7 separate regions of the Homo sapiens genome follow, and all the other regions are linked to region 2. The links are contacts of gene promoters, found by promoter capture Hi-C in blood cells and fetal thymus (Javierre and others, 2016). All regions are on one chromosome and are shown on one strand. Each heading gives the region's core, a stretch centred on a gene start or on the middle of the fragment in contact. The rest is flanking DNA. Distances are from core to core; before and after follow the strand shown.

Region 1 (3,075 bases), core at 84-2,583, 170 kb before region 2:
TTGTTAAATTAATAAACATAATTTTACATTTGGGGGAAAACCTAATGATTTTGTAATATAATCTATGGAAAGTAAAGCTAAAAAATTTTAGATAAAGGGAATAACAAGCAAGGGTTTGTTGATCAGGAGGTTATACTCACCTGGGAGGTAGAGTTAATTTATAATATTCAGCATACTTTTCTTTTGTAGGAATTTTTATAATGAAACTAGTATGTTTGCTATAGTACATTTAAATAATGCAAAATTATATCAAGTAGCAGGAAGAATTATATTGATAAAGAATAGAAGTTCTACCTTTAGCTTTCCTTCTTTAAACCACTGACTCAGCTGTAGAATGCCAGGCTCAAATTTGTCTTTATAATTTAATACCAGAAATCTTTCCCTGCAGTGAGGAAGAAAAGGATAATGATCAGAGAATATAACGGGAGTGGTATTCCAAGATCAAACCATTCCAGAATTCTAATATCTGTTAATCCTTAAAATATTAGGACATAACACATTGAGTCTGATCAGATAGTTTTATGCATAGTTACAGGTGTAAATGTAGACTTCTATTAATAATTTTTCAAGACCAGCCTGGCCAACACGGTGAAACCCCCGTCTCTACTAAAAATACAAAAAAATTAGCCGGGCATGGTAGTGAGCGCCTGTAGTCCCAGCTACTCGGGAGGCTGAGACAGGAGAATCGCTTGAACCTGGGAGACGGTGGTTTTAGTGAGCTGCGATCGCGCCACTTTACTCCAGCCTGGGCGGCTGAGCGAGACTCCATCTCAAATAATAATAATTTTTGTCTGCCCAGTATCTACAACCCCATTTGTTAATAGCACCGTGAATTTTTCCTTTGTGGGTAGCATCCTTTCTCGACCCTCATGTGACTTAACCCAGGCCAGTCAAAGCCAATAACTATCAGTTTTCAGGTAGCTAGTTAGCCAGAACCTAAATATTGAACCAGCTTAAAAAATGTGTATTTTAAAGGTTTTTTTTTGTTTTTTTTTTTTTGTTTTTTTGAGATGGAGTTTCGTTTTCATTGCCCAGGCTGGATGGAGTGCAGTGGCATGATTTTGGCTCACTGCAACCTCCACCTCCCAGGTTCAAGTGATTCTCCTGCCTCAGCCTCCCAAGTAGCTGGGATTACAGGCGCCCATCACTACACCCGGCTAATTTTTTTGTATTTTTAGTAGAGAAGGGGTTTCACCATGTTGGCCAGGCTAGTTTTGAACTCCTGGCCTCAAGCAATCCACCCGTCTCGGCATCCCAAAGTGCTAGGATTACAGGCATAAGCCACTATGCCCGACCTAAAGTTTTATTTAATAAAGAAAAAGTGTCTATGAAGAACAATAGATTTCATACACATCTATGATATTTAAAACCCCATGAACCTGGTAATAAGGGCAAAGAGGAAGAACACACCTTGTGATGTTTCTTTCTTTCTGGATTGCCTCTATAGCAGGGGATAGCGGGGGAGGATAAGGCACATCTTTGTTGTACTGAGAAATTTGACCACACAGGATGATGTGGCTGTTCTCATTCATCTGCACAGAGAAAAATAATGATAAAATATCCCTTTCCTATGTTTACTGATTTTATGGCTGCCATAATGGAAGCCTCCTTGACTATTTAATCCTTTCTGTCAACTAGTTCGATTTTTTTTTTAATTTACCTGTTAGAGGTATTTAAGAATTTTAACTAGCTAGAAATAATTACATTCCAAAGGAACACCAAGGCAAATAAATGGTTGGTAATCAGCAAAAGAATTACATTAGTTGTTGTTGCTACTTATTAGTGGTAGAACTGTATTTTTTTGGATTTAAACAATTTAATAATCTCAACTGCAAATAATTTTAGATGCAGCAAAGGACTATGTAGTGTTAATACCTCATGTTGATATTTTATAATATTGTTAGTAAATATGCATAAATACATGCAGCCTATGAAACCCATAGGTCTGGGGCCATGGCTGTGAGTTGGTCAGTGGTGAGTTAGGGATCAGTGCTTCAGCATTTCAACAATGCAACTGTAATTTTTCACAAAAATAAACCAAAAGTGAAAAATATAATATTGGTAGCAAATAACTGAAATTGAAGTTCATAGTACAAATCTGCAAGTAAATGGAAGTAGGTATCAGCAAGCTCTTTTGTATCACTTAAATACAATACTGATCATCACATTAAGTCACAATAATCCCTCCAATTTTATAAATTTTTTTCTCAGTATTAGGTAAAAAGATATCACAACATATAAAGTGCAGTATTCAAATTTGTTATAGAAATCAGCAAACAACCTGACTTATCACTGTATCACTGATGTTACCACCAACATTGTCAAAATAAACATCCACTCCAGCTGGGCATGATTCACGGAGCTGTTCTGCCACATTGTCTTTTTTATAATTAATTGCAGCATCAAAGCCCAGTTCTGAGGTCAAGAGGATGCATTTCTCATGTGTTCCACAAATTCCCACCACTCTGGAACAACCTAAGAAATGGCCAATCTAGGGGGGAAATTTGAAGATTAAATGGCTTTATATTGTCACATTTAAATGTAAAAATGTACCAGTATACAAGATATTACAGGTATATGACAGTGTTCATTACAATTAAGGTTAGATTACGCTGCTTTTAATGAAAAGTAATTTGAAACTAAAAGAACTGAGGGCAGACAATGTCATCCTAAAAAAAAATTATTAAAATTGAACAAAGGTAGACTTATGTTCCTCAACTTATGATAGGGATATGTCCCAATAAAACCATCATTAGTTGAAAATATCCTAAGCAAAAAATGCATTTAATATACCTAACCTACTGAACATCATAGCTTAGCCTAGCCTACCTAAAACATGCTCAGAACACTTATGGCTGGGCAAAATCATCTGGCAACACAGTACACCGTAGAGTACCAGTTGTTTACCCTTATGGTCATTGTCAAAATAAACATCCACTCCAGCTGGGCATGATTCACGGAGTTGTTCAGCCACATACGGTGGCTGACCAGGAGCTACAGCTTGTTGCCGCTGCCCAGCATCTCGAGAGAGTGTCATACTGATATCGCTAGCCTGGGAAAAGACCAAAATTCAAA
Region 2 (2,871 bases), core at 1-2,500:
TTTACAGGAAGTAGGGATATTTTTATAAAACAATTGTGTCCTCCCCACATTTTGCTATGTTAATATTTGCTTCTAACAATTTGCAGCTGTTTCACTTTTTCCTCATTTGTCTCTAAGTTGAAGGCTTTGTTGGAGGGGACAGAGCACAGGAACAGCCTTGACAGTCTGTAATTATTGTACAGATATTTTAATAGCATATAAATAAGTATATTCCTTTTATTTTGAAACAAAAATGATCAGACACTGCCTTTTGTGTGTTTGCTGCCTGTGGCATCCTTTTTTAAAAAGACTGTTACATATTAAAATAGTGTACATATATAAATATTACCTCTTTTGCTGTACAGTTGTGATAGAGACTGAAGATTTTATTTTTTGTGTGCTTTTTATAAGAAAAAAATTAATACACTAAAGAATCTTGCTGATGTGATTGTAATGTACCTATGTAACTTATTTACTTTTGAATGTTCTTCTGTATCTTTAAACCTTTTATTAAATAAGGTTTTAAAAATTCAGAGTTGAATGCTTTGTTCTCTTGGGATTTTCACCATCTGGGGTTGATGTAAGTGCGCCTTGTCTTGCTTGCAGGGAGATTACTCGACATTTTTGAACCATAAGGATTCTCTTTTAGCAGCCTATTGTCAATGATGCCAGCCAGGAAAAGGAAAATAATACACTAATGTTTGCCTGGCTAAAAGATGACTCAGTAGACACAGACAGATTTTTACAAAATTTTAGACAAGAAAAAGTCTAAACTCAGTGTCTCACACAAATACACAGAAATGGCGCACTCCGACATTTTGGCTTCATTGGGATGAAATATGCAGGGTGCACAGTGTGGTCAGGGGCAACGGGAAGCCAGGGTTCTGAGGAGAGTATTTTCACGTGCAGGGTGGACTGGCTGAGCAACCCGAGTAGACAAGTCCACCATGAGGGATGCATTTCCAACAATATCATCTTAAATCCACTCCAGGATTGGGTTATTATTTTTAAAACACGGTGCTTAGTAGTAGTTGTTTACTGTTAAAATGCTAAATTATGAAAAAGGAAATGCGCCATCAGAGAAACAAATGCCCGAGCCCCTCGCTGGCTCCACGGCAACCGCTCGACCCCCGCGAGCCGCCGGAGCAGGCGTGCCTCGCGCCGGCTGGGACACCGTTGCCATGGAGACGCCCGAGCAGCTCCGCCGCGGGGGCGGGACGGGGCGGGGCGGGGCGGACGCCGCTCGCCGGCTGGCCCCATCCTCCACTGCAGCAGTAACGTCGCGGCGGGTTGCGGGTAGGACTGGACGCCAGAGCAGCCGCGCAGCGCCTGAACCGCTGCGGGCCGCCGCGGCCGCCCCTTCCCACCCTCGCCTCTGCTGTCTCCAGCCTCGCTTCTCCGACTTTCCTGCTCCTCTGCTGCCTTCGTTTCTGGTCCTCGGCCGTCCTCGCCGCCCGCCCAGAGGAGTCCCCGCGCCCGCCAAGAAGCCGCTTTCCGCTGGCCCGCAGCCGCCGCGACTTCGGCACAGTTTCTCCCTCTGGCTAGTCTCCCAAACGGCCGCTCCTCGCCCGCGGGAAGACCAGGCTGCGACCGCGAACGCCCGATCCTCTCCAGGAGCCGCAGCGAGCGCCCGGCGGCCACGCCCCGCGACCACACCCCGGCGGCTCTCGGCCCAGCGCGCCTGCCTTCGCCGCCCGCCGTCGCTCCTCGCCCGCTGCACGACGACGCGACGCCCCTGCTGCAGGCGGCGGACCCGACCGGACCCAGACCCAGACGCAAGATGGCGACGGCCGCGTGACTGCCTCAGCGTCCCCGAGCTCGGCTCCGAGTGCACCTACGGACTGACTGTGGGGGCAGAGAAGGGCGAGATCAGGACTCTGTCTTTGTTAATCGTGACTGCATGAAGGTCGCCTCCCTCGGGCCTACTTGGTGGGAGTGTCTGGTATTGTTCTAAGGCCAGGAGCACGGTGAGCCACAGTCTGTTGGTAGAATTTGGCGTCTTGATAGTTGAGAAAATGGCGATGACACTGTTGGAAGACTGGTGCCGGGGGATGGATGTGAACTCCCAGAGAGCTCTGTTAGTCTGGGGCATCCCAGTGAACTGTGATGAGGCTGAAATCGAAGAGACCCTCCAGGCTGCGATGCCCCAGGTCTCCTACCGAATGCTTGGGAGAATGTTCTGGAGGGAAGAAAATGCGAAAGCAGCCTTATTAGAGCTCACTGGCGCTGTAGATTACGCCGCGATCCCCAGGGAGATGCCGGGCAAAGGAGGGGTCTGGAAAGTGTTATTTAAGCCCCCAACTTCTGATGCTGAATTTTTAGAAAGATTGCACCTCTTCCTAGCTAGAGAGGGGTGGACCGTGCAAGATGTTGCCCGTGTCCTTGGGTTTCAGAACCCTACTCCGACCCCGGGCCCAGAGATGCCAGCAGAGATGCTAAACTATATTTTGGATAATGTTATTCAGCCTCTTGTTGAGTCCATATGGTACAAGAGGCTGACACTTTTCTCGGGGAGGGACATCCCAGGGCCTGGAGAGGAAACCTTTGATCCCTGGCTGGAGCACACTAATGAGGTCCTAGAGGAGTGGCAGGTGTCCGATGTAGAAAAGAGGCGGCGGTTGATGGAGAGTCTTAGAGGCCCCGCCGCTGATGTTATTCGCATCCTTAAGTCCAACAACCCCGCGATAACCACTGCCGAATGCCTGAAGGCGCTTGAGCAGGTGTTTGGGAGCGTTGAGAGCTCTAGGGATGCCCAGATCAAATTTCTGAACACTTATCAGAACCCGGGAGAAAAATTGTCTGCTTATGTCATTCGTCTGGAGCCTCTGCTACAGAAGGTGGTAGAGAAGGGGGCCATTGATAAAGATAATGTGAACCAGGCCCGCCTAGAGC
Region 3 (3,251 bases), core at 141-2,640, 130 kb before region 2:
CTCTACAAAAAATTTTAAAAATTAGCCTGGTGTGATGTGTGTGCCTGTTGTCTCAGCTGCTTGACAGACTGAGGTGTGAGGATCACTTGAGCCCAGGAGGGCGAGGCTGCAGTGAGCTGTGTTTGCACCACTGCACTCCAGCCTGGGCAACAGAATGAGATTCTGTCTCTTAAAAAAAAAAATGCATAATAAATATAAATACTTGGCCGAGCGCAGTGACTCACGCCTGTAATCCCAGCACTTTGGGAGGCTGACGTGGGCGGATCACAAGGTCAGGAGATCAAGACCATCCTGGGTAACACGGTGAAACCCCGTCTCTACTAAAAATACAAAAAAATTAGCTGAGCGTGGTGGGGGCGCCTATAGTCCCAGCTACTCAGGAGGCTGAGGCAGGAGAATGGCATGAACCCGGGATGCAGAGCTTGCAGTGAGCAGAGATTGCACCACTGCACTCCAGCCTGGGCGACAGAGCAAGACTCCATCTCAGAAATAAATAAATAAATAAAATAAATATAAATACTTAATCTAATATGTTTGTATACTCATTCATTAAATTATTTTTTAGTTTTTTCATTCATTAAATTATTTTTAAATGAAAATAACCTCGTATGATAGCAAATTACTCAGGAGAAATCATTCAAGTTTGACCAACCTGCATGGTATATGACACTTAGTGCAACATCAAAGATTATTTGATGCTAAATAAAACATTTTTCCATGGAGGTGATAATTGTTCATAATGACACAAATTCAAACCCAAACATACATCCTAAAGAGATAACAGAACAAAGTAAGAGATAAAAACCACACCTGGCTGGGCTCGGTGGCTCATGCCTGTAATCCCAGCACTTTGGGAGGCTGAGGCAGGCGGATCACATGAGGTCAGGAGTTCGAGACCAGCCTGGCCAACATGGTGAAACCCTGTCTCCACTAAAAATACAAAATACAAAAATACAAATACAAATACAAAAAATTAGCCGGGCATGGTAGCGAGCGCCTATAAACCCAGCTACTCAGGAGGCTGAGGCAAAAGAATGGCTTGAACCTGGGAGGCAGAGGTTGCAGTGAGCCCAGATCACGTCACTATACTCCAGCCTGGGTGACAGAGCAAGACTCTGTCTCAAAAAAAAAAAAAAAAAAAAAAAAAAAAAAAAAATGCTGTAACCGAATCCTGTGAAACTCAAGCTTAAATAAATGCTTTTTCAGAAAAATTGAGCATTTAGAAAAAGGTCATATTTGTGCCTATTACAAGGTGGGTTCTCTGGAAAGCAAACCCTGATGGGGAGTTTGGTATGCAGGATGTCTATTAGGGAATACCTTTTGAATCAATACCTATCGGAGGAAGAGGAAGAAAGCAGGACTGGGCAACAGGAGAAGCTGAACTCCCCGGGGAGCTTGGAACTAACATGGCCAGTCAGAGTTGTCCTCTGTTGGACCTGAATTTTCTCCCACTCCTTTTAGTTAAAGTCACTGTGGGTAATGTATCTCAAAATTGCAAAGCAAAATTTTCTCCCCTGTACCTCCTATTGGTATGACTGATCTCTTTAGGGGCTTGAATGCTATAAGCTATTTCACTGCTATTAAATAAAAGCTTATTTATTTATTTATTTACTTTAATTTTTTTTGAGATGGAGTCTTGCTTTATCACCCAGGCTGGAGTGCAGTGGCGGGATCTTGGCTCACTGCAACCTCTGCTTCCCAGGTTCAAGTGATTCTCCTGCCTCAGCCTCCCAAGTAGCTGGGACTACAGGCACCCACCACCATGCCTGTATTTTTGTATTTTTAGTAGATACGGGGTTTTACCATGTTGGCCAGGCTGGTCTTGAACTCCTGACCTCAAGTGATCCACCTGCCTCAGCCTCCTAAAGTGTTTGGATTACAGGCATGAGCCACTGCACCCGGCTATATTTCTTCCTCCACTTCTGCCAGTAAAATTTAGCTCCACTAGCCTACATTTTACATATAATGCTGACTAATGAAATCCAGAGCCTGACCTTAAAAATGCTAAGTCTTCAAAATTAACAAAAAGAGTCCCAGAAAGAGATGAATGAGATTTCTTCTCTCCCCTGCAGTTACTGATGAAGAGCGACATTTCTGTATCATAAAATCATTTCAAAGACTCTAACCGTATAAGGTGTTAAATTAAGAACATTTATATGATTACCAAGTTGTATGGATATTTATAAATGTGATCAACATGTTTTTGTTCCCCATTAATGTATCTGTCCTTTGAAGTACAATTTCAGAAAAGAGAGCTTGAAAACTCTTAGAGGTTTAGAAATTCTTGCATGCCAAGTGAAAATAACCTTGAAAGAAAAACTTTTGAAGATTGGCTGTTGTATCGTTATCTATTGCTACAAACAAATTACCCCCAAAACTTAGTGGTTTAAAACAATGAACTTTTCCGTGGCTCACGCTTGTAATCCCAGCACTTTCTGGGGGCCAAAGTGGGTGGATCACGAGGTCAGGAGTTCGAGACCAGCCTGGCCAACACAGTGAAACCCCGTCTCTACTAAAAATACAAAAATTAGCTGGGTGTGGTGCCGGGCGCCTGTAATCCCAGCTACTCAGGAGGCTGAGGAAGGAGAATCACTTGAACCCAGGAGTCAGAGGTTGCAGTGAGCCAAGATTGTGCCACTGCACTCCAGCCTGGGTGACAGAGCTAGACTCCATCTCAAAAAACAAACAAACAAACAAACAAAAACTATGAACTTTTATTGTATTATCTCAGAGTTTTGAAGGATCAGGAAGCCATGCACAGTTTAGCTGGGTGATTCTGGCTCAAGGTCTCTGTAATCAAGCTGCCAGTCTGGGCTGGGCTGTGGTCTCATAAGAAGACTCAGCTGGGGAAGAATCCACTTCCAAGCTTGCTTTCTTTTCTTTCTTTTTTTTTTTTTTTTTTTTTTTGAGACAGTCTTGTTCTGTTGCCCAGGCTGGAGTGCAGTGGCACAGTCTCAGCTCACTCAAGCTATTCTCATGCCTCGGCCTCCCAAGTAGCTGGAATTACAGGCACATGCTACCATGCCTGGCTAATTTTCTTATTTTTAGTGGAGACAGGGTTTCGCCATGTTGGCCAGGCTGGTCTCAAACTCCTGGTCTCAAGTTACCTGCCCACCTTGGCCTCCCAAAGTGCTGGGATTATGCATGAGCCACCGCGCCTGGCATAGGATGTATTCTTAAATCGTATAAATATTGTATTTAAAAAACTGTAGTAATCAAGGCATTGTGCTGTTGATGCAAGGATAAATAGA
Region 4 (3,015 bases), core at 464-2,963, 220 kb after region 2:
CCTGAATCCTGTTCTCACCTCAGTTAACTAGCTTCTCATTACCTGGGTGCTGATGGGCTTTAGGATCAACTCCCATAAATGGAGTTATAATTCCATTATTAGGGAAAAATCTGTTTGAAGTGTTCAAGAGAAGCCATATGGCCCCAGATCTGTAGACTGAGAAAATCAATAGCAGATAATTCAGCTAATGTACTCACTATGCATATAGGTTGGTACTTTAGGCTCCAGCTCATTTGTCACCAGAATTGATAGGTCATTTTTCAATTATAGCTCCTTTTAGAGATAAGTGGTTTCCCTGTTTCTGATTCATTCTTTTGCTTTGTTTTGTTTTTTTGCTTTTTTGAGATGGAGACTCGCTCTGTCACCCAGGCTGGAGTACAGTGGCACGATCTCAGCTCACTACAACCTCCGCCTCCCAGGTCCAAGCAATTCTCCTACCTCAGCCTCCGAGTAGCTGGGATTACAGGCGTGTGACACCATGCCCGGCTAATTTTTGTATTTTTAGTAGAGACAGGGTTTCACCATGTTGGCCAGGCTGGTCTCAAACTCCTGATGTCAAGTGATCCGCCCACCTTGGCATCCCAAAATGCTGGGATTACAGGGGTGCACCACCGCACCCAGCTGTTTCTGGTTCATTCTTGCTCTGGTCCTCCCCACTCAACACTGCCTTTTCCATCCCAGGTGCTTGAATGCCTCCTGAACCTGATGCAGAGAGATCCTTACTGGAAAATCAAGGCCTTTGCCATTCGAGGTATTATAGAAGTAGTGCCCCAAACTCTTCAACCTTAAATACCTTTGCCTATGCAAGTAGAAATGATCCCCTGAAACTCTCTAATGGGGTGAAGTGCAGGAGAGGTAATGATCTTAGCTTTTCAGAAGTTCCTTGTCTGAAAAGAGAAAGATAATTTTCTTCAATTTTTAGTGAAAGATCCTGAGTCTAGGTATATGTCAAACTTAAGTTAAAGAAAGGGCTGACAAGACAGTCCCTGCCAACAGAATTAAGGATAAGTTCCAAGTAGGTATCCAGTGCTGGATGCATCTTGCTTTCCTTGGAGATCTCAACTATTACGCTCTGCAAAAGTCAGATCAGTTTCAAGACTGCTACAGACCTAAAACCCTGCCCCTTAATCTGCCTAGTTTCTTTTTAGAATCTTTGGCATTGCTTCTCTTTTTGACATAGATAAATAATTGTGCCTCCTTTCCCCATCACCCTGCTGGGACTAGGCAGGTCTTCCATGTTATTTGTTCTATATTTCATCCCAAAATAGGCAAATATCCTAACAGGCAAGGATGGGATGGAACATCCCTCTTCTAGGAATCCTTTGGAGGTAATGTCCCATTCTGACCTATCCCTAAAATTCTAATGGTGATTACCATCCAAAAGGGAAGGTATTGTTTGCAAAACTCAATTTATTTCTGGATGCTAGAATATAGTAAGCTCAGTCTTCAGTGACATGCTGCCCTCTAATCTCTGCAGCTTTGGGACAGATTGGGCAAGTAAGTCCCGAGCTGACGGATCTTCTGCTCTGGGCTATCCACTATGAAGAGTCACCAGGTGTACGGCTGGAAGCTTGCCGTAGCATCCTAGCCCTGAAACTTCAAGGGGACCGGGTCAGGGACACCTTCCTAGACGTGCTGCTCCTGGAGAACCACGATGCTGTTCTAAAGTAAGCACTAAACCTCTGGCTCCCACCATGACCTTATACTGCCAACTCTCACATCTTTGCTCATTGAATATGTCCCTGCCTTTCCAGGCTACCTAATGGCAGTAAAAGCACTGGTTCACCTGCACATTCACCACTCACCCAAGTAGGTAACTGAAAAACTGGCCTAAATTAGATTGAAAGTCAAGCTTATGTAGTTCATGCATCTTTTCTCCCCACCAGGATGGGTTTTGGCCGGGTGTGATGACTCACGCCTGTAATCCCAGCACTTTGGGAGGCTGAGGCAGGAGGATCACCTGAGGTCGGGAGTTTGAGACCAGCCTGACCAAAATGGAGAAACCCTGTCTCTACTAAAAATACAAAATTAGCCAGGCATGGTGGCACATGCCTGTAATCCCAGCTACTAGGGAGGCTGAGGCAGGAGAATCACTTGAACCTGGGAAGTGGAGGTTGCGGTGAGCCGAGATGGTGCCATTGCACTCCAGCCTGGGCAACAAGAGCAAAACTCCGTCTCAAAAAAAAAAAGGATGGGTTTTAAGTTATTCATATATTCAACTAACATTTATCAAATGCCTATTGGGACAACAAGTTTTAGAGTCAAAAAGACCAGGGTTTGAATTCCAGCTCTGGCATGCAATAGCTATGTGAGCCCGTGTAAGGTATTTAAACTCTGTGAGCCCATTTTTTTCATGTATCAAATGCAGGTGATAGTCTACATTATAGGGTTGTGGTGATAATTAATGAGATGACATGTTTAGCGCCTGTCATAAAGGTGTTCAGTAAATGGTACCTATTGGCACCTTCAAATATATTGTCTTGGCCAGATGAGGTGGCTCACATCTGTAATCCCAACACTTTGGGAGGCTGAGGCAGATGGATCACCTGAGGTCAGGAGTTCTAGACCAGCCTGGCCAACATGGTGAAACCTGTCTCTACTAAAAATACAAAAATTAGACGGGCATGGCCGGGTGCAGTGGCTCACACCTGTAGCCCCAACACTTTGGGAGGCCAAGGCGGGTGGATCACCTGAGGTCAGGAGTTCTAGACCAGCCTGGCCAACATGGTGAAACCCCATCTCTACTAAAAATACAAAAACTAGCTGGGCATGATGGCACGCGCCTGTAGTCCCAGCAACTCAGGAGGCTGAGGCAGGAGAATCGCTTGAACCTGGGAGGTGGAGGTTGCAGTGAGCCGAGACGAGATCGTGCCATTGCACTCCAGCTCTGGGAAACAGAGCAAGACTCCATCTCGCAAAAACAAAAAGTAAACAAAAAACCCACAAATATATTGTCTCAAAAACTGCACATTATTCCTGTAAGCTAAGCATTATACCATTTTTGCATATAAGGCT
Region 5 (3,076 bases), core at 226-2,725, 210 kb before region 2:
GGAATTCATAGACACCAGGTTTTTACTGGGTACTGAAGCCTCTTCAAGCAAACTACTGCCCATTAGTGGCTCAGCTGCACAGAGAATAGGTTGTGAGAGACATACAGCAATCAAGGCTGTGCCTGGTCCTCATTTTCTTTCAACAGAAGCTGGCCTTCTCTTTCATTACTAGAAGTTAACCTATAGATGGGATGCCACCCCCTATTTCACCTACTTTCGAGAAACAAGAATAAACCTAGAAGGGAAAGAGTAAGCCTTAGAAGATAATGATCCTTGCTTGTGTTCAGCGTCTGAAGAATTAGCATATGAAACAGGATAGGTGGATCTTTAGAAAGGAATATTTGGAATAATTAAGGAAAGATATGGCGAAGGAATAAGAATTAAAAAGAGTTATCAAATTTCAGGCAGGGCAAAAAGGTAGTCATGACTGGTAAATAAAATATGCTTCCAGCCTGGCCAACATGGTGAAACCCCGTCTCTACAAAAATATAAAAATCAGCCAGGTGTGGTGGCACCTGCCTATAATCCCAGCTACTCAAGAGGCTGAGGCAGGAAAACTGCTTGAACCCAGGAGGCAGAGGTTGCAGTGAGTCGAGATGGCGCCACTGCACTCCAGCCTGGGTGACAAAGCAAGACTCCATCTAAAAAAATTAAAAAGCTTAAACTCTTCCCATGTGGAAATCTTTTATCACTGTGTTACTCAAATGCTTGTTCATGGATCAGCACTAGTTACCATCAAACTCACTAGGGAAACTTTTAAAACTACAGATTCTAGGATCTTGCAAATTATCTCATTTATCAGATTGCTTTGTTTTATTGGTGGGCGGACAAGCAACAAAAAGTATATAAATTTTAAAAGGTTGCAGATGATTCTACTGTATAGCTATGTTTGGAAACCATCAGCCCATCAAATGAGACCAGGTCTATCTACCCAAAACAGAATCAGAAAATTTCCAGATAAGCAGGCAGGACAGTGATTTGGCTCTTGGAACCCTAGAAGTAGTACAGCGTTCCACTATGCCCACCCTCCTCACCAGTTTGCTCCTGCTCTTGACTCCCAGCTGCTCCCAGCTGCAGGTGATGCTTTCTCATATGCACATTCCTGCTTCCACTCTGAGAGAAGGTCTTCCCACAGACTTGGCACTGATGAGGCTTCTCTCCTGAAACAGGGACCAGGTTAAACAAGGAAGCCAAAAGGACAGGAAGAGAATGAACTCAAGACCTAGATGGAGAAACCCAGAGAATGTTAAACTGAACATAAGCAGCTGCTCCTTTTCCCATTCCGCACCTTCCCAGCCTCTCAAACTTCAGTATATGGGGGAAGGCAGGAAGAGTACACCAGGAGGGCTTTAGCACACTCCCTGCTCCCAGCTGCTGGTCCTTTCCAGACCTTCTGTAATGCTGCCTTCACAAAACCTCTTTGGTATAGGACCATGGCAACCACAAAAAATATGCCTTCTTTTTCAGTTAGTCTTCCATGGACCTCTAGGACATGTGCTTTCCTCAAGGATTTCAATCCTGTGTTCCTAATATCCCCTTGTCATATTCCCTGCCACCCTCTTTAGGGTCATCAACATTCACACTGGTGGCTCTTACAACATAATAATCTAAATTGTCCTCTATGTCTTCAAGTCCCAAACTCTCCGTCTCCATTCTACCTACCCAGAAAACCATACTTAGAGCAGGGGTCAAAAACTCATGTCTATAGGAGACTGATAGGTAGCAAAAGTAAGTAAAATGGCCAAGTGGGGGCTGCAGTAACCTAGAGAGTACCTAGAAAAGGGGCAGCTGTTATTCAGCTCTAGCCAACTGTTGCCATGGGTAGATTAAGGCAGATTCTCTGATTTTTTTTTAAGACACTGGAAATAAGGATTTTTAAGTAGAATCTCCCAATTTCTAAATGCTAGGAACAAATTCACAATTGACAAACACATGGTACAGCAATCATCATTGCTGATTGTATTTTGCTGGGAATGCAAAATACAAAAACCTCTTTGGGGGAATCTGACCAGATCTAGAAAAATTGTAGATGCACTTGCCCTTTGACCTAGGAATCCCACTTCTAGGAATATGTCCCAAAATTACAGCAGCAAAATGTGAAATACTCTGTGCACAAGGTTATTCATCACGGCAACATTATTTTAAATGGCTAAATACTGGAAACAACGTAAATATTCATCACAGAGACTGACTAAAAAGCTATAGATACTGCAGTAGTCCTGCATAGCAAAAAAAAAAAAAAAAAAAAAAAAACCTATACAATAGAAACAGGGTGGAATATTACAAAGCTTAGAACTAAAAACTGAATCACCATTTGAACCAGCAATCCCATTACTGGCTATCTACCCAAAGGAAAATAAACTGCTCTACCAAAAAGACACTTGCCCTCACATGTTCAATGCAGCACTATTCACAACAGCAAAGACATGGAATCAACCCAGGTGCCCATCAATGGTAAATACGATACAGAAAATGTGGCACATACACACCATGAAATACTATGCAGCCATAAAAAAGAACAAAATCATGTCCTCTGCAGCAACATGGATGCAGCTGGAGGCCATTATCTTAAGCAAATTAACACAGAAACAGAAAATCAAACACCATGTTCTCACTTATAAGCGGGAGCTAAACACTGGGTACTTATGGACACAAAGATGGGAACAATAAACACTGGGGATTCCAAAAGCGGCTACGGGGCAAGGGCTGAAAAACTACCTATCAGGTACTATGTTCACTGCTTGGTCAACAGGGTCATTAGTAGCCCAAACTTCAGCATCTTGGAATATACCCTTGTAACAAACCTGCACATGTACCCCCTGAATCTAAAATAAATTTATTTTAGCCAGGTGCAGTGGTTCACACATGTAATCCCAGCACTTTGGGAGGCCGAGGCGGGCAGATTACTTGAGGTCAGGAGATCAAGACCAGCCCGGCCAACATAGTGAAACCGCATCTCTACAAAAATTAGCTAGGCGTGGTGGCGGGCGCATATAATCCCAGCTGCTTGGGAGGTTGAGGCAGGAGAATTGCTTGAACCCAGGAGGTGGAAGTTGCAGTGAGCCAAGATCATGCC
Region 6 (3,120 bases), core at 362-2,861, 180 kb before region 2:
CAGCCTTCCTGAGTAGCTGGGATTACATGCATGCGCCACCACGCCCAGCTAATTTTGTATTTTTAGTAGAGACGGGATTTCTCCACGTTGGTCAGGCTGGTCTCGAATTCCTGACCTCAGATGATCTGCCTGCCTCGGCCTCCCAAAGTGCAGGGATTACAGGCATGAGCCACAATGCCCAGCCTATTTGGGGTGATTTTATATTCAGGCATACAAAGTAGTTGTTAAGATAGTAAGGCAACATACTTTGAGAGTAAGAAAAACATCCACACAATGCTTTGCTGATTATAACATTTCCCAGATAGAATGTTACATAATCTCCATAACAAGCCAGTCAGGAAAGCTGCCTGATCTCTATGTTCAGATCGTAAGAAAATTGAAGCTAAGGGAGGTTAAACTGCCCAAGGCAGGGAACCAGTAAATGATGGTGCCAGGCCTGGATCCCAGGGCTCCCAGATTCTAAATTGCAAGCTCCCCTCCCTACGCTGCTTCTCATTGGCAAATATGACACTATTTCTTCAATGTAAGAGGAAATGCTGAAGGTTTCAGCATCTGGAGATTGGCACATATATCTCAGGAAGAATCTGAACTTTAAGGGTCCCACCAAAATGTTAAAATGAACCATTCTAAGTAGCACTATGGTAGTCATAAACAGAACTAAGTATTTTGAAAACAAACAGTTTAGAGTTTGGCTGGGGATGGTTGCTCACACCTAAAATCCCAGCACTTAGGGAGCCAGAGGCAGGAGGAGACCCTGAGTCCAGGAGTTTGAGACCTGTCTGGCAACAGAGCAAAACCTCATTCTCCATAAAAAGGGAAAAAAAAAGACCAAAAAAAAAAAAGATTTAATGTTTCAAAATATTCATAGGGAACTCTAGTTCTCTATGAGAAATTTTAACTTTTTATTTTCATTTGAATGGTAATCAAAAAATAATAATAAGCATATACTAGATAATCTGCATAAACTCCAAACAACTGTGTACTAAGTGCTTAAGCTTAGTTTGTGATAATGATAGCATTAAACCATGTTGTATTGAGTTGTGTCACATGTTAATGAGAAAACACAGAGGCAGACCTAAAAAAGTATCCATGACATGCTACATAAGCAAAGATTCTGCAGTGGTCTGAATAGAGCCGTGGTTCTCAAGCTTTAACATGTATCAGAACCAAGTTTTTGACTCAGTAGGTCTGGCATGGGCCTGAGAGTTTATATTTCTCAGTTCCCACGTGACGTCAATGATCCAGTGACAATGCTTTGAAAATTACTAGAACAGAGAAAAGTGACACAGAGTAAGTAGTATAGGCATGCTGAACTGAAAAGAAAAAGCATTAAAACCATCATAGCTAATTGTTAAACTGCCATGAGCAGCAATTTAGTTTCAGCAAAACATAATCCTCTGCCACAATGACTTAATGTTATTTTTATTTTCATGGATTTGGTAGTTTTATTCCTATTAACTGATAAAAACTGTTTTGATTTCATGATGGTATAAGAGCTCTAAGTATATGAAGTTTACACAGAATTTATGTTTTTGCATATTTAAGAGACATTACAATAAAAACAATTCAAACCCCAGGATGTATATTATTTTTTCTTTAAAAGGGGCTCTGTACATTATTTAAAGTTGAGAATTCAGAATACTAGTTGGTTTTGAACACAAATCTGGCATGACCAAGTTATTTTATAGAAAATAAAATTTAAACAATTTACAGATTTCTAGCCTTCTGCTCTCATCAATAGAATAATTTAAATTATATACAACTCAAACCAGCCACTGCATTACCAAAATCTCTTTGCACAGAATAGTGGCAAGGAAAATGCCGACGGGCCTCACCATTGCTGCTGGTTTTTGCATTCTTTGCCAGTTGTGCACGAGTAGCAGCAATCAAACTGTCATGGGCCAACTCCTGAACCCGGAGGAACCATGGAATGCTACTGTCTGTGCTCTCACTGGAGAGGAAATCATTCCCTGAATCTTCTGCCTCATCCTGTACAAACACTAAGTGCTCAGCTGAAGAGCCCAGACCTGGAAGAAACAAAATATATGAAAAGTTAGAAACCAAGCAAGCTTTTTATTTGCCCTGGCTCAGAGACTCTCCATGTCCCTTTTTTTTTTTTTTTTTTTGAGACGGCGTCTCGCTCTGTCACCCAGGCTGGAGTGCAGTGGCGCAATCTCGGCTTACTGCAACCTCCGCTTCCCAGGTTCAAGTGATTCTCCTGCCTCAGCCTCCTGAGTAGCTGGGATTACAGGCATGCACCACCACGCCCGGCTAATTTTTGTATTTTTAGTAGAGACGGGGTTTCACCATGTTGGTCAGGCTGGTCTTGAACTCCTGACCTCGTGATTCGCCCACGTCGGCCTCCCAAAGTACTGGGATTACAGGCGTGAGCCACTGCGCCTGGCCCAGAAACTCTCCATGTCCTAAATAAGCTATTCCTGACCTTCGCCTTTTACCTCAAACTTCTCACTGAAGAGCAGGCTATCATCTTTCTACCTTTAGTCTACAGGCTTGTCATTACCTTGCCTCCTCTGGTTTCAAGGCAAAGCTGTCTTTCTTGGTCAACCAGACTAATCCCCACCTACTGTATTTCATTCTCATTCTTCAATTATCCCCCCATATATACTTGTGTTATCTCCTCTCTCCTATCTGCAACTAGTTCCTCTCTATCGGCCAGCATTTCCTTATGTCTTTAAATATGTCCTAACTCAAGTCTCTCACCCTTATTTTTAAAAAGAATTAGAAAACCCCAAGTACTTCTCTAGCTATTTACCTTCTTCCCTGTTCCTTTAAAGTCAAGCTTCTTGAACAAGTGTACCTTCTAACTTGTGTATCTATTGTCTTACCTCCCATCCACTCCCCATCTCTTTAACCCTGGCCTCTACCTCAGCTACCACAGTAACAATTGCTCTTGCTAGGGTCACCAGACACACACTTCTTCTCACTAATAAGCCCATCATGTAGTATTTGGCATGATTTAGTATCTTTTCTGCCTTAAAACTTCTTCCTCCCTTGGCTTCCCTGCTACCACTCTCTCCCAGTTCTCTTCATCCCCTTCCAGCTGCTCCTTCCTGTTCTGTTGTCCTCTTAAATGTTTTTTCCCAGGGTCCCAGACTTGCC
Region 7 (3,140 bases), core at 89-2,588, 250 kb before region 2:
CCCCCTGTATGCTTCCACAGCATCCTATGCATACTTCTATCACTGTACGGAGATTGTCATTTACGGTCTTCCTTACTTGACTATGAACTTCCTGAAAGCGGAGACTGTTCTCAGTATCTCCAGAGCCTGCTACATAGAAAGGACAATTAATGGTGAATGACTGCACTGCAGAGGACCTAGACCTGTGCCAGGAATATATACTAAATGGCCCAGAGTAGGGTAGTGTTCACCATTTATCTCGGAATCCATTTCAGTATGTTCAGTTCCCTTTATTCTTGTTGCTACTACAGAGCAGTGGAGTCTTTGGTGTGAAGGTAGCAGGCTTTGAGTGTCATTTAGGCTCCAAAAGTAATACTGGTACCCATATTATCCAAAGGCTGTGTCTACTCCAGAATTATTAGTATTTGTTGAGCACCTACAATGTACTAAAGATGTTCCATGGATTTTACAAAAGTTCTCTCATTTTGAAAGTCTTTATTCAATCCTGAGCAGTTAGTGATACTATTTACATTTTGAACCCACATCTATCTACTAAGCTTACTCTTAAGCCCCATGCTGAAATTCGCTCGGCCTTTCCCTAGGAATACTTTCAATGAATCAGGCTTGAAAGGTTCAGGTAGCTGCAACCTAGCAGAACTGTTCAAAATAATCCAAGTGTTACAGCTTCAAAAAAAGGCCAATGCTAACCACCACCCAGGCAGCTGTTTCAGTCAGCCTAACAGCAGCCCACAACCCTCAAAAGGTTATTATTTATTATTTCTATTGTTTTGCATTTCCGTGTGTACACTCCTCCACATAATCTAGACCAAGCATTATAGTTACAAAGTAGAAAGGGACAGCTGACTGGTTACTCCTTTTTCCTGACTCAAAACCACCTTTCTGGCTGGGTGCAGTGGCTCACGCCTGTAATCCCAGCACTTTGGGAGGCCAAGGCAGGCAGATCACTTGAGGTCAGGAGTTTGAGACCAGCCTGGCCAACATGGTGAAACCTCATCTCTACTAAAAATAGAAAAATTAGCTGGGCATGGTGGCACGTGCCTGTAGTCCCAGCTACTTAGGAGGCTGAGGCAGGAGAATCGCTTGAACCCGGGAGGCGGAGATTGCACAGTGAGCCAAGATCGCGCCACTGCGCTCCAGCCTGGCAAGGATCCGTTTCAAAAAAAAAAAAACAACACCTTTCTGTATCTCCCCCTGCAGCACATCATCAGCTGGGTAAATTGATACTCACAAAGGCAGAGTTAACGGCATCCACAAATTTTTCCTCATCCATGCTAACTAGCTCTGCTGCATGTTCATGGGACGTGGACCAAACCAAGGAACTCAAGGTGTCTGAGAGCTGTGTCAAAAGAACACCAATACCAACGGCTAAGACTCTGCTGCACTTGGAAACTCTCAAGCATAAAAAGACAAAAAGGGAACTTACAAACAGCCTGGGCAGATTCCCTTGAAACCAGAAAAAGGCTGAGAGAAAGTGAAGAGGAAAGGCTTGCATGCATGTGGGCGGACTGGTCAGAAGGACCTCTTACCGGGAGCAGAGCAATAGGCCCAGAGGGAAGAAATCTCTGCCAGGCTACGTTGTTTTCTGTGGCCTGCAACAGAGAGGAGAAAAGTTTCTCTGTGAAGTACCTAGTGCCTATGAATAAAGTCCCCAGATGGCAGCTCAGGATCTTACCTCTGATAAATGCAGAGTAGCCACAACAGCAGACTGGTCATAGTTCCAGCTCACATTCTGGATTCCAACAGCCTGCCGTACTCCGGAGTTGTGACCATCTGCACCTATCTGCATGGACACATGAGCCTGCTAAGTCTTCCAGCCTCTTCATAAACTGCTTCAGAAGTTTTTCTCTGCTCCCTAAAGTTTCCTCCAGCTCTGATTGTTGTGTGGCAGGATAATTCCATCAGGCCTGCTTCACTCACAGCCCCTAGAGGTGGAGCCCCTGCACTGTCACATCAGCCTCAGCCAACAGAGCCAAAGCTGGACATGACTGAACAGGTGCCAGCCATGAGTTAAACTCAGCCAGGCCCTCCTGATATTTGAACTAGAGAGCAATAAGGAAAGTTTCAGTATGGGGCACACACTGGAGCTGAATAGTTCTGATGTAGGGTTAGGAATGGCTACCATGCAAAAAGGGAAGCTTGTGAGCAGAAAGGAGAAAAATGAGAGGCAAGAGATCAATGACCACAGACTCCTCAGAGGGAAAGAACAGCCTCCATTCCCAACACTCTGGTGCCTGTCCTGTGAGGCCCAGCTATCTGTTATTTCACAACCTAAGACGGCCCATGAGATTGCTCCCTGTACAGGATTTACGATGAGACCATCTCCACTTGAGCTGGCCTGAATAGGTACTGGTCCTCATAACCAAAAGTTTTGCCTAAAATTAAACTATAGCTTAAATCGAAAACCAGAGTCCCTAGAATCTAGGATAAGATGTAGATATACAAGACCCCTAGCAAAATAAGAATCTTCAACTACCAACAATTTGGTCTGGAAGGTGCTGCCATCACCTAGGGTAATATGAACCCAAGGGCTGGAGTCGGCCATAGGAAATGGACAAGGCCAGGTATAGCGAATGGCTTTGCTCCTGTAGAGAACCGTCACTCGGTCTGGGGAGGTCAAAAGAGAGGAAAAAAAATTAGAAAGGTGGGCCACATAGGCTGAGGAAAAAGCCATAACTAAACCTAAAGCAAGGTCCCAGGACAGCAGTGTCTTGTCATTTAAGATTAAAAAAATCAGTAATTAATGCTGTGGTCTGAGCTAATAAATGACAGAAGCCACAGAGATAACTCAATGTCAAAAAAAGACATTGAAGTTCTCAGTGAACTCTGTCAGAGGCACTCTTTCTTACTGTCCACATGCTTCTGCGCCTCCATTTTCACTCTACGCTTAAATGAGCCCGTGTTTGCTTTTACAGTAGACAGGCTGGGAATACCATAGGCTGAAACAAATCCTAGACTACAAAAGATTTTCTTCCAGCTGGAAATCATTTTATTTTTCTGGTCATAAAAACAATACGCTCTATGGCCAGGCACGGGTGGCTCATGCTCGTAATCCTAGAACTTAGGGAGGCTGAGGCAGGAGGATCACTTGAGCCCAGGAGTTCAAGACCAGCCTGAGCAACATGGTAAAACCCCATCTTTAC

Evidence for each region. Contacts are between HindIII fragments. The CHiCAGO score rates a contact against its expected background, and 5 or more counts as called.
Region 1: a fragment that was not itself captured here is called in contact with the fragment with the promoter of PNMA1 in region 2 in 11 of 17 cell types (M2 macrophages, activated CD4 T cells, M1 macrophages and 8 more); the score reaches 7.8 in M2 macrophages.
Region 3: a fragment that was not itself captured here is called in contact with the fragment with the promoter of PNMA1 in region 2 in 12 of 17 cell types (non-activated CD4 T cells, total CD8 T cells, activated CD4 T cells and 9 more); the score reaches 9.8 in non-activated CD4 T cells.
Region 4: a fragment that was not itself captured here is called in contact with the fragment with the promoter of PNMA1 in region 2 in 3 of 17 cell types (M1 macrophages, erythroblasts and M0 macrophages); the score reaches 6.3 in M1 macrophages.
Region 5: a contact is called between a fragment that was not itself captured here and the fragment with the promoter of PNMA1 in region 2, in 1 of 17 cell types (total CD8 T cells). The highest score is 5.1, in total CD8 T cells.
Region 6: a fragment that was not itself captured here is called in contact with the fragment with the promoter of PNMA1 in region 2 in 4 of 17 cell types (naive CD4 T cells, total CD8 T cells, activated CD4 T cells and 1 more); the score reaches 5.9 in naive CD4 T cells.
Region 7: a fragment that was not itself captured here is called in contact with the fragment with the promoter of PNMA1 in region 2 in 4 of 17 cell types (activated CD4 T cells, total CD8 T cells, naive CD8 T cells and 1 more); the score reaches 6.2 in activated CD4 T cells.

Annotation. Positions count from the first base shown.
Region 1 is chr14:73,878,512-73,881,586 of GRCh38, reverse strand. It overlaps PTGR2 (prostaglandin reductase 2), which reads right to left. Exons shown (of 10, transcript NM_001146154.2): 6 at 2,282-2,491; 7 at 1,411-1,532; 8 at 295-382. Among named protein-coding and RNA genes, the nearest start is that of ZNF410, 6.8 kb to the left of the region's middle. The HindIII fragment of the contact is 3,993 bases long and covers 1-3,075 here.
Region 2 is chr14:73,712,763-73,715,633 of GRCh38, reverse strand. PNMA1 (PNMA family member 1) reads left to right here and starts at 1,250. Exons shown (of 1, transcript NM_006029.5): 1 at 1,250-2,871. The coding sequence starts at 1,995. It overlaps MIDEAS (mitotic deacetylase associated SANT domain protein), which reads left to right. Exons shown (of 13, transcript NM_001367710.1): 13 at 1-512. RefSeq lists enhancers at 785-854, 1,795-1,854 and silencers at 1,075-1,354, 1,535-1,704. The HindIII fragment of the contact is 4,676 bases long and covers 1-2,871 here.
Region 3 is chr14:73,845,873-73,849,123 of GRCh38, reverse strand. No RefSeq gene overlaps it. Among named protein-coding and RNA genes, the nearest start is that of PTGR2, 4.3 kb to the left of the region's middle. The HindIII fragment of the contact is 406 bases long and covers 1,188-1,593 here.
Region 4 is chr14:73,496,807-73,499,821 of GRCh38, reverse strand. It overlaps HEATR4 (HEAT repeat containing 4), which reads left to right. Exons shown (of 18, transcript NM_001220484.1): 13 at 682-751; 14 at 1,478-1,667. It also overlaps a transcript of ACOT1 not described here. Among named protein-coding and RNA genes, the nearest start is that of RIOX1, 7.4 kb to the right of the region's middle. The HindIII fragment of the contact is 282 bases long and covers 1,573-1,854 here.
Region 5 is chr14:73,919,064-73,922,139 of GRCh38, reverse strand. ZNF410 (zinc finger protein 410) reads right to left here. Exons shown (of 12, transcript NM_021188.3): 9 at 1,035-1,160; 10 at 1-74. Among named protein-coding and RNA genes, the nearest start is that of FAM161B, 29 kb to the left of the region's middle. The HindIII fragment of the contact is 1,630 bases long and covers 661-2,290 here.
Region 6 is chr14:73,896,978-73,900,097 of GRCh38, reverse strand. ZNF410 (zinc finger protein 410) reads right to left here. Exons shown (of 12, transcript NM_021188.3): 5 at 1,836-2,027. Among named protein-coding and RNA genes, the nearest start is that of ZNF410, 12 kb to the right of the region's middle. The HindIII fragment of the contact is 921 bases long and covers 1,151-2,071 here.
Region 7 is chr14:73,957,611-73,960,750 of GRCh38, reverse strand. COQ6 (coenzyme Q6, monooxygenase) reads right to left here. Exons shown (of 12, transcript NM_182476.3): 5 at 2,474-2,604; 6 at 1,673-1,780; 7 at 1,527-1,589; 8 at 1,229-1,336. It also overlaps a transcript of ENTPD5 not described here. Among named protein-coding and RNA genes, the nearest start is that of COQ6, 8.9 kb to the right of the region's middle. The HindIII fragment of the contact is 1,599 bases long and covers 539-2,137 here.